Regions from separate parts of the Homo sapiens genome. Here all the other regions are linked to region 3. The links are contacts of gene promoters, found by promoter capture Hi-C in blood cells and fetal thymus (Javierre and others, 2016). All regions are on one chromosome and are shown on one strand. Each heading gives the region's core, a stretch centred on a gene start or on the middle of the fragment in contact. The rest is flanking DNA. Distances are from core to core; before and after follow the strand shown. Region 1 holds the start of S100Z (S100 calcium binding protein Z). Region 2 has its middle 4.7 kb from the start of AGGF1. Region 3 holds the start of AP3B1 (adaptor related protein complex 3 subunit beta 1).

The links. Contacts are between HindIII fragments. The CHiCAGO score rates a contact against its expected background, and 5 or more counts as called.
Region 1: the fragment with the promoter of S100Z here is called in contact with the fragment with the promoter of AP3B1 in region 3 in 1 of 17 cell types (non-activated CD4 T cells); the score reaches 6.5 in non-activated CD4 T cells.
Region 2: a contact is called between a fragment that was not itself captured here and the fragment with the promoter of AP3B1 in region 3, in 1 of 17 cell types (total CD8 T cells). The highest score is 5.0, in total CD8 T cells.

What each region holds. Positions count from the first base shown.
Region 1 is chr5:76,848,589-76,852,441 of GRCh38, reverse strand. S100Z (S100 calcium binding protein Z) reads right to left here and starts at 2,428. Exons shown (of 5, transcript NM_130772.4): 1 at 2,287-2,428. The HindIII fragment of the contact is 3,987 bases long and covers 1-3,008 here.
Region 2 is chr5:77,023,830-77,027,549 of GRCh38, reverse strand. No RefSeq gene overlaps it. Among named protein-coding and RNA genes, the nearest start is that of AGGF1, 4.7 kb to the left of the region's middle. The HindIII fragment of the contact is 159 bases long and covers 1,720-1,878 here.
Region 3 is chr5:78,292,534-78,296,293 of GRCh38, reverse strand. It overlaps AP3B1 (adaptor related protein complex 3 subunit beta 1), which reads left to right and starts at 1,596. Exons shown (of 27, transcript NM_003664.5): 1 at 1,596-1,842. The coding sequence starts at 1,715. RefSeq lists enhancers at 336-385, 760-1,333. The HindIII fragment of the contact is 5,219 bases long and covers 1-3,760 here.

The DNA.
Region 1 (3,853 bases), core at 1,179-3,678, 1.4 Mb after region 3:
ATTACACCCAGCCCAAACTATTTAACAACAGATACAACAGAGGCACTAAGCAGAATGAAAAGCAGTTGTGAACAGGGAGCATCAGCCTGCTTCCACGGCCAGGCTGCTAGTGTAAACAGGCAAAATTGAGACTAAGAAAAAAAAAATATCTTGACTAATTTTTTTTATTACATTTGATAGAAGGGTGAGTTCAGAGAAATAGTCCATGCTGATAAGAGGACCGACACTGCTTCAGTGCCAGACAGCCAAGTGGAGTGGAGGCCAGTGGGAAATTGGAGAGCCCGTGCTCTCCCAAGAAGGCGAGACTGCTTCTCAGACCCAGATCATCGTTGCCAGATGGGATATGGCTCAGAGCTCCCAGAACTTCACTTTTTTTTTTTTTAAAAGAAAAAGTGAGAAATTTTAATTTTTAAGAATTCCTGGATTTTAAGACTGCAACTCAAGACAAACAAACAAAACCCACCAAAACCCAACAGACAAACATAAGACTGCAGGACAACTCAAACAGGAAATTCAGCGAATGCTGGCCAGCTTGTGACTTCTGCTTTCTGCTGTGTACTTTATATTTAACCTCATTCCTTCCTCTACTTTACATCTCGTTCTTTTCTGTCTGCTTTCTCTCCTACTTAATTTATAATATCTTACTCTACTTTGTGTTATCTTCATATGTCACCTTAAATCCTACCTAGGACCCAGGAGAGTATAAATAAACTGACCACAGGACATCTCCACTTAGGTAACACATCAGAGTCTCAGATTCCAAACCACAGCAAACTGATTTTGGCATTTTCCAATCCCCTGCTCCCTTCTTCCTCTACCCCAGAGGGGATCCCCTTTTTTTGCTGCTCCAGTCAACAGCAATACCCTCATTCACCCAACTGCATGGCCAGAAACCTGAGTATGATGCTATTCCTGGCCCCTCTCTCTCTCTCATGCAATCAGTTGCCAGGTTGTATCTCCTCACTCTCTGTTCCTTCCTCCTCAACCCTAGCGCCATAGTTCAGGCCCTTGTCACTTCTGGCCTGAATTACTGCATGAGATCCCAACTCACCTCCTGCACCTACTTTGCTCTTCTTCAAAATTAGCCTCCCCTGCCTGCTGGGAGGCACACCTGAGCTCCTCACTTAACCTCCTGGACAGGCCCTGCCATCCCCTGGCTAAATCTAAACTCCCCGCAGTGTGCCCACCCATCCCCTCTGCACCATCTGTGCCGCACACGTGGCACTGCCACTGTGCTGCCCATTCCTCTGCTCAGGTGCCAGTCCTCCAGGGAAGCCTCCGATGCCCCTCAGCTCCTGGGAGCACTCCGCCTCTGGGTGCCCCTGTATCACCTCATGCTTTCCTCTAGACCTGCACCGGCACTGGGTTGAAGGAAAATAATAGTAGCCAACGTTAATTAGCACATACTCTGGGCCAAGCACCCTTCTAGGCAGTTTAAATGTATTCCTTTATGTCATCCTCAAAAATCCCATGAGGAGGCTGGGGAGCGGTGGCTCATGCCTGTAATCGCAGCACTTTGGGAAGCCAAGTGGGAGGTGGAGGTTGCAGTGAGCTGAGATCACACCACTGCACTCCAGCCTGGGTGACAGAGTGAAACTCCATCTCAGAAAAAAACAAAAAACAAAAAAAACTTTATTTCTCTGTCTAACCCAAATTTTGTGTCCTCTCACCAACTTCTCCCCAGCCCCTCCATCCCTCTTCCCTCTCTTCTTCTGTAGGCTGAGAGCAGCCATTCCAGGGCTGATTGTCCAGGCATGCCCAGCACTGGCCAGTGTGAAGAGGAGGAGCATAGACCACTGCTGTGACTTCCTGGGAGTGGGCTTACACTGGCATCTGTGCAGGCTTCAGGAAAAAGAAGCGAAATCACGGCGTGGATCTAAGGGGCCAAGCCTCACCTTGAAGGTTCTTCTGGGTCTTTGGCCTGGACAAGAACATGAAACTTGAATTTCTCAAGGTGAGGTGAAGGCCAAGCAGGAAGCCAGGATGGTCACCAGGAAAGGAGCCAGAATGAACTAAGTGTTCTTTAGGGCAAGGAACTTACCAGAACCTCTACGCTCCGAGCTATGATCAGGCTGCTCTCTCCCTCTCTCTCTCTCTCTCTCTCTCCCCCACCCCCCCGACCCCTTTGTGGCCAAGGTAAGGCCACATTTTAGAGTGGAAGCCCCAAGGCAACCCCCCACCTCACAACCTCCACTCTTGTTGCCCTCTCTAATCCAACGCCTGCCAGGCTCACACTTCAACCACTAGACTGAAAAGCAAGAATCTTCCACAAAAATAATCTTTTACCTTAGACCTGCTTCCTGTGCAGATGAGATAAGGAGAATGCTCTTGTCTGAATTTCTGGGCGTGGAGATTAGCAAGCCGTTTTCCTCCCAGCAGCTAGAGCGAGCAAGAGGCCCTGCTGTGAGTAGTGCTGTTCTGAGTCTGCGTGGTCCAGACTCACCACACTGCAGGCACGTTTCTTCATCAGGTGGGAAAGCAGGAAGAGGTTTAATTTAGGACCTAAAGCTGGTATATTGCTGAGTAAAAGAAATGGGAAGGCACCAAGTCTCTAACGAAATTGCGCTGGGTGCAGTGGCTCATGCCTCTAATCCCAGCACTTTGAGAGGCTGAGGTGGGTGGATCACTTGCGGTCAGGAGTTTGAGACCAGCCTGGTCAACGTGGCGAAACCCCATCTCTACTAAAAATATAAAAATTAGCCAGGCATGGTGGCGGGCGCCTGTAATTCCAGCTACTCGTGAGGCTGAAGCAGGAGAACGCTTGAACCTGAGAGGCAGAGGTTGTAGTGAGCTGAGCTCGCCGCTGCCCTCCAGACTAGGTGACAGAGCCAGATTCCGTCTCAAAAAAACAAAAAAAAAAGAAAAAGAAACTGCTTGTGATCCAACACTCCCCCACTGGTGCCTCCTCATGGTGAAGAGCAATTACTCTGGCACCAGAGTCTTGGGGTTCAAATCCTTACTTCACCAGTATGTGACTGGAAAAGCTACCTAACCTGCCTGCTGAAGCTTCATGGCTAATAATTCCTCACAGCATTTCTTTTTTTCTTTTTTTTTTTTGAGACAGAGTCTTGCTCTGTCACCCAGGCTGGAGTGCAGTGGCATCATCTCAGCTCACTGCAACCTCCACCTCCCTGGTTCAAGCTTCTGCCTCAGCCTCCCAAGTAGCTGAGATTACAAGCGCCCACCACTAAGCCTGGCTAATTTTTGTATTTTCAGTAGAGATGGGGTTTCACCATGTTGGTGAGGCTGGTCTTGAATTCCTGACCTCAAGTGATCCGCCCACCTTGGCCTCCCAATGTGCTGGGATTATAGGCGTGAGACACTGCGCCTGGCCCAGGAGGAATAAGTTTAAGAGCTCCCATTGTACAGCATGCTATCTATAGTTAATAACAATATATCGTGTATCGAAAATTGCTAAGACAGTAGATGTTAAGTGTCTTTATCACCCCCAAAAAATGACAAGTATATGGGGCAATTAAGTCAAATAGCTTGACTTAATAATTCCACAATGTATACATAAATTAAAACATCAAGCTGTATTTGTATACCATAATATATACAATTTTTACTTGTCAATTAAATAAATAAATACACAGAAAAGGGCAGAGACAGGTCAAGAAGCACAGCACTCAGTACAGAAATACAGATAACAATATATTGAAAGAAAGAATTCAAAGATAAATTTTTTTTTTTTTTTTTTGGAGACAGAGTCTTGCTCCATTGCCTAGGGTAGAGTACAGAGACACAATCACAGCTCTCTGCAACCTCAACCTCCCAGGCTCAAGTGATCCTCCCACTTCAGCCTCCCAAATAGCTAGGACTGCAGGGTATGCCACCACAACCTGGCTAATAC
Region 2 (3,720 bases), core at 550-3,049, 1.3 Mb after region 3:
CTTATTAAACAAATTAGGGTGTTATCCTGTTACATTACAGAAGCCTAGAGAGGGGCAGTCCATGGCCAGTGACTCCACAGTTCTTCAGGGACCCAGGCTCGGTATGTCTTTCTGCTCTGCTATTCTCGGAGCATGTTTCCAGAGCCTCCAGGTCGATCCATGGTGCAAGATGGCAAGGGATGAAAGGACTTTCCCAAAGCCCCACTCAATGGTTCCTGTCTACCTATCAATAGCCACCCCTTGCTGCAAGTGGGGCTGGGAATTATGTGTATATGTGTGTTTTTCTAAGCTAGACGCATTATTCTCCTAATAATATAGGGGTTCTACAAGTAAGGAAGAAGGGCAAAATTCATGTTGAGTATGTAAATAGCAGTCTTTGCCACACCTAGTTTTCAGATCTAAGAGGTACTTAGCATAGTGGGCAGAGGCGCTGCCCTAAAAAAGCATTCTACTTGACACCCTTCACGATTTGATTTTGTTTTGTAATGTTTTTTTCCCACATCCTCTCCAATAAATGATATGAACCATTTTTTGTACTTTTTGCCATTATGAATATAATGAGCTATTTCCTTGCTGTTTTAATTGATACTCCTCTGATTACTAGAGAATCTCATACATTTGTTGAAATGTATATATGTTGAAATGGCTATATGTCCTTTCCTTTCTGTGAATTGCCTATCCATATCTTTTTGCCCATTTCTTTCTTGTTATTTTGCAGTTCTTTATATAAACAAGGTATTCCTTCTTTATCAGTTTTAGATATTACAGATATCTTCTCCCAGTTTGTCATATATTTGTTAGCTTTGTCCAGTGTTCTTTGTTAGCCAGGAGTTCTTAATTTGTATGTCATGAAATCAGTCTTTATTTTATTTTACTTTTTAAAATTTTATTTGGCTTTACAGTGTAGGGTTTCATGAAGACTTTCCTTACCCCAAGTCATATTTTCTTCTATTGATCTTATAATTTGAACTTTCACATTTGTTCTCTATTCCAGCTGGGGGTATTCAGACATGACCTAGTTTTCTCAAGACCATCCCCTTTGCATTGCTTTGTAGTACCACCATCATCTTCCATCAGGTTCCCATCTTTATATATGGGCCTAGTTCTGAGCTCGCCATTCTTTTCCACTTGTCTATTAGTCTGCTCCCATGCCAGAGCCACTCTGTTTTTATCACTTAGGTTCTTTAGTATGCCTTAACTGGTAGGGCAAGGCCCTATTTTGTTTTTCTTTTTCAAAATCAGCTTATTCATAAACCTCTATTTTTCCATATAAATTTTAGAATGAGTTCGTTGAGTTCCTCAAACAATCCAATGGGATTTTTATTAAGATTACATTGAATGTATAGATTTATTTAGGGGAATTAACATAAAACTTTATTTAGATAGTCAATTCACATACATTTTTGCTTAATATTTTTCTTGGACTTTAGTACAATTTTAACACTTGTTTCGGGAAAGGTCTTGGGTATTCTTTCTTAGGTTATTTCCTAGACACACCGTAGTTTTATTGTGAATAAAATTGTATACTGTAGTATATTAGAGAGGGAAAGAAAAGTCAAAGTGATGAATAGGTTTCTAGCTTGGATGAGGAAGATAGGGACTATTGGAGAAGAGTATGTTGCATGAGGAGGAAGGGATGCTTTAGTTTCGATATTGTTAATTATATTGAATTTGAGGTGTTCAGTAAATAGTGAGCACTGCAGAAGCCTATCTGAAGCTTGAGAAACAGATCTGGCTGTAGAACTACTACTGTGTAAAGCAAACTCAAATGGCTCCAAGGGCTAGGGAGATAAAGCAAATGAATGGACAGGGCAGCTGCTACTCAGCTCCTGCGAACTGTGGAGACATATGGGAATGTGGACCCTGTGTTGCAAAGCTTCTGATTTTTCGAAAAAAAAAAATCAATCAGGATTTTTATGTGAAATCTCTCTGTTTTAAAAAAATGATTCAAATTAGAAAAGTGATTTCTGTAACTTCAGTGTCATATGATTTATTTTGTTTTGTTTTGTTTTTTGAGATGGAGTCTCGCTCTGTCTCCCAGGCTGGAATGCAGTGGTGTGATCTCGGCTCACTGCAACCTCGGCCTCCCGGGTTCAAATAATTCTCCCACCTCAGCCTCCCGAGTAGCTGGGATTACAGGCACCTGTCACCACACCCAATTAATTTTGTATTTTTAGTAGAGACACGGTTTCACCATGTTGGTCAGGCTGGTCTCAAACTCCTGACCTCAGGTAATCCACCTGCCTCGGCCTCCCAAAGTGCTGAGATTGTAGGTGTGAGCCACCGTGCCTGGCTGTCATATGATTTATCATAAGGAATTGGCTCAGTGATTATAGAGGCTGAGAAGTCCCACAATCTGTTGTCTGCAAGCTGGATACCTAGGAAAGCCCGTGGTGTCATTTGAAGGCATGAGAGCCAGGGAGCCAATGGTATAGATTCCAATCCGAGTCTGAAGGTCTGAGAACCAGGAGTGCCAAGGGCAGGAGAAGATCAATGTTCCAGCTCAAGCAGTCAGGCAGAGCAAGAATTCAACTCTACTCTGTCTTTTTCTTCTATTCAGGCCGTCAGTGGGTTGGAGAATTCCCATCCACATTGGGGAGGGCCATCTGCTTTACCTAGTTTGGCAATTCAAATGTCTTCTGGAAACAACCTCACACACACACCAGAAATAATATTGAAGGAGATAAATGAGCATCTTGTGGCCCAATCAAGCTGACACATAAAATTAACCATCACACTTTGGAAATTGCATGAATGGCCCCAGTTCTTTATCGGTCTTCTTCCTCATCCTTTGACATGTGATTTTGTGGTTTTCCTCACTAAAAGGGAAGAATCTCCCCTTCACCTTTGAGCTGGTTTGGCCATGTGATTTGCTTTGGTCAGCAGAATGATGTGATGTGCCAGAAGAGTGACACATCTAAGCCTAAGTCCCAAGGCCTTAGTGATTCTGCTTGCCCTCTGGATTTCCTGCCATTGCCACAAGAAGAACATACCCAGGCATGTGTGCTGGTCTCAGGAGAAAGATGAATAATACAGGGAGCAGACCTCTCCTAGCTTAGATGCTCCAGCTAAGTCCAGGCTAGAGCAGAGACTTCAGGAAACCCTCAGACACATTAGCAAGCCTGGTGGTGGTGATCAGCCAGCCCACACATCACCCCTAGGCTTGTGAGAAATAATGAAGGATGGTTGTTTAAAGCCACTGAGGTTTGGGGTGTTTAGTATGCAGCAATAGCTAATTGATACTCAATCTGATCTAGAGCCATTCCAGGAGCCTATGAATTGAATCAGGCTGGAGTTCAAATGCCTGAGATATTATAATATTCCACAACAGAAGAATATTGTCAATTCAATAAAAGCTGATTTATGTCCAATTTCTTTTAGAGTGTCATCAATTTATATTTAATTAATATCCACCTGTCATAATTTATATTGGATATGGTGGGTAGCCAACTTTTCCTTACCTGATTCAACTTTTTGATGCCACAGGAGAATATCTGGGGGAACCATAGCATTTCAATAGTTCTGATTTATTGCCCCATGTTACTTTTGGTCAATTGACCATTACCCGTTTCCTCCCCTGGAGGCCCAAGAAAAAAATGGGGGGATATAACATTAAAACACTGGAGTGATGGTAAAGGAAGCCCGAGGAAGCTAAGTAAGACACTATTCTCCACCCCCAGCTAAAATTCTTACATTTTGTACCTTCCTTTTATGATGGTA
Region 3 (3,760 bases), core at 347-2,846:
CTATTTATATATATAAAACTACTTAGAAGTTTTAATATATATAAAACTACTTATATCCTGGTATATATTAAGGATTATATAATAATATATAGTTATCTATGATCATCCTCATCCTCATCATCAATAGTCAGTTGTAGGTGAAATTCTATTAATTAATACTGACAAATAACACATTTTAGGTGCTCATCATTGGCTCTCCGGAGGAGTATTCTAACAGCTGAATTAAAAACCTGCCAATATTTGACCAGACGATCAAGTTTGGAGGACGTCCCTTCCTCTCCCACCCAGAGCCACGCTCTTGCGTGCTTCCACAGTGACAGTGTGACCTTTTGAAATTTGGAGATCATACTCTCATCCTTGAAAACGCCCCACCGCCTTCCCTGGGGCGGCCGGCCTCCAGGTTCGCGTTCTACCTGGTAGAATCCCTTGACAGTTTCAGTACCTGGCCGCCAGGGCTTTGGGTGTTAATGCCTTCCTTGGACGGGAGGCACTGGGGAGAAGAGAGGGAAGGCGCTGAAACCCACCTGAGAAGGCGGGCTGGGGGAAGGCACCCCGGGAAAGAGGTTTTCTCGGGTGCCAGCACCCGGAGAGAGCTACTCTGGGGCCAGGCAAGCATCCCGCCTAGGCTCCCTAGTGCATATTAGTGAGTAACACGACTGGCGCGCGAGGTGGTCCATTTTATTTTTGGTAGCTAGACGCCAATAGGACGCACCACTTCAGCTCCAAACGGGAACTGGTGGCCCCAAGATGTTTTCTTTTCTTTTTCATTTTTTTGAGACAGGGTCTCGCTCTGTCGCCCAGGCTGGAATGCAGTGGAGAGATCTCAACTCATCGCTACCCCCTCCTTCTGGGTTCGAGTGATCCTCCCACCTCAGCCTCAGTAGCTGGGACCACAGACACGCGCCACCACGCCGGCTAATTTTTATATTTTTTGCAGAGAAAGGGTCTCGCTATGTTGCCTAGGCTGGTCTCGAACTCCTGGCCTCAAGTGATCCACCCGCCTCGGCCTCCCAAAGTGCTGGAATTACTGGCGTGAGCCACCGCGCCCGGTCTGCCCCCAAGACTTTCATTGAAAAGATGGAATGGTCGCTTCTGTGCGGATCCTCCAAACCATCGTTGGGAGAGGCCTCCTTAAAGTCTAGGAGAAAAGTTGTTTGGGACCGATATGAAAGTAAGGCAAAGCCGGATGGAAGAGAGTAGCCGAAACAAGCAAGAAAAGGAAAAGCGATCGTGATGGGTTTAGGAAAGGTGATCTGGCGTGCTAAATGGCATTTCCGGAGAAATCTGAAAACTATTGCTTTACTGAAGTATAGCAAAGAGCTGTCCGGGCTCTGGAAACTCCTTAACGGATCAAAACGGATGCAATGGGTATCCTTCTCCAAAGACACACCTCAAACGGGCCGGGAGCCGGGCAGTTAGCCACCCGCTGCCTCCCCTTCCGCAGTCCGGCTCGCAGCCGCTCAGCTACCTCTAAAGCCCGGAGCAGGAAAGTCCGCGCAGGCCTGGATGGCCCGGGTGGTAATCTAGCAGGCCTGCACACTGCGCATGCGCAGGGGGTGGACTGCCAGGTCGGCTCAGGGAGCCGTGACGAGTCCGGAAGCGCCTGCGCGCGCTCCTCCGTACGAGAACTAGTTTTGTTCCGTGCCCTCTGGACTGGAACCTTTTGGAGAGAACCCCCGGCAGGACCAACCCCGCACCCGCCAGCACCGCGGCAATGTCCAGCAATAGTTTTCCTTACAATGAGCAGTCCGGAGGAGGGGAGGCGACGGAGCTGGGTCAGGAGGCGACCTCAACCATTTCCCCCTCGGGGGCCTTCGGCCTCTTTAGCAGCGATTTGAAGAAGTGAGGAGAAAGGTTTGGGTTGCGGGGATGGGAGGGAGGAGCTGCGGACTCGGAGGAGTGGGCGCCAGGGTGGGCTTCCTGGAGAGGAGCGGGGTCGCCCTGAGGTCTGAGCAGGGCAGGGCGGTAACGTGTCCCGCGGGTGGGTAGGTGGGGTTGGTTGGCGGTGGTGGGAGTTGTGGGAGTTTGGGGCGAATGTGTGTAGGGGTCTCTAGTAGTTTTCAAACTTTAGTGAAAAGGAAACCACTTGGTGAGCTTAGATCCCACCCCTGAAGACACTGATTGAATTGGACTTGGGCTGGGCTCAGGAGTCTGAATTTTGAGCATCGTCTTCTAGTTTATTTACCGTTCGCCGGATCAGACTTTAATACATTCCCTGATTAGGGTGAAAGGAGTGTTTTGGTGAAGGTGAGAGTGCGAGTGTTGCTTGTGGGAAGTTATTTTGTGACCCCGGAGTGTAGGAGCAGAGAGGTGGATTTAGGCTGTTTGAATGGACAAACTGGTTTACACCAGTATTAATGTTCTTGGATTATGTCCTTTGCACTACAGACAAAAACACCAATCCAAAATAAGCATATGAATAGAAAATATTTTAAAAGAGTGTTACTGTGAACAAATCCAAAACTTTTACAGATTAATAATGTGAATTTTAAAAACGAATGTTAAACAAGGTACACTTAGTTTTGTAAAAAGTATCACCGAGAAATGGAAAGAAATCCCAAGTTGTTTGTTTTGGGGGGTGGGTTGGTGGTAGTGGTTACATTTACCAGAATTATCATTTTTACATTTCTCTTATTTTAAATCTTTCATTACTAAGCAATAGGGTCACATAATAGTCTGTCACTAAATTCATGCTAAATTAAGGTAGAATAGCTGTGCTAGTAGCTTTGCAGATCTGTTAGAGGGTATAATTAAAATTTAAATTAAACGTTACTAACAATATTGGGTAGTCTAGAAAGTGCTACTACTTCAAATTGGGATTACATTTTGGCTGTATTGAGGATCAAAATCATATATATAGCATGTAAGATACAATCTTTTCCTTTTTCCCAAGGTTAGAAAAGTTTAAAAGTAAGGTAACTGATTTCATTTTTCATTATATGCATTTGATGATCCATTGTTCTAGAACAAGTACGGAGCTTGTTGCCTCTACTATTAGCAAAATGTTTAGACTGAATTAACCTGTATATCGGCATCAATCTGTTTCGCAAATTAATTTACTTTTATGGTTTGTGAACATCTACGATGTTTTCTCTTAGATTTTTGTCAGATTTGGGGCCAGGCACTGCGGCTCACGCCTGTAATCCCAGCACTTTGGGAGGGTGAGGTGGGCGGATCGCTTGAGGCCAGGAGTTCGAGACCAGCCTGGCCAACATGGTGAAACCCCGTCTCTACTAAAAATACAAAAATTAGCCGGGCGTGGTGGCTCGTGCCTGTAATCCCAGCTACTCGGGAGGCTGAGGCAGGAGAATCGCTTGAACCCGGGAGGCGGAAGCTGCAGTGAGCCGAGATCGCGCCACAGCACTCAAACGTGGGCGACAGAGTGAGACTCCGTCTCAAAAAAAGAAAAAAAAGAAAAAGATTTTTGTCAAATTTGGACCTGATTTGGAAAAAAAAAACAAAAAAAACTTACGGCTTTGACTCTGTGACCAGTGCTCTTGAGGTGACCTAACAGGTTGGATTTAAAATAAAAGTAGCTAATTGATTAGAGGTGATATGTAATATATGCAAATAACCATGGTTGAATTGTGTTCCCCGAAAGATATTTATTGAGTATTTGTGCACACCACTTTACATTTATTATCTCATTCAGTTTTCCTAAACAACCCTGCAGGTTATTACCAGGTACTTCTCTGCTCCCACTTTACACGTGAGGAAATTGGAGCAAGGTTGTTAACTTGGAAAAGGCCACAAAGGTAGA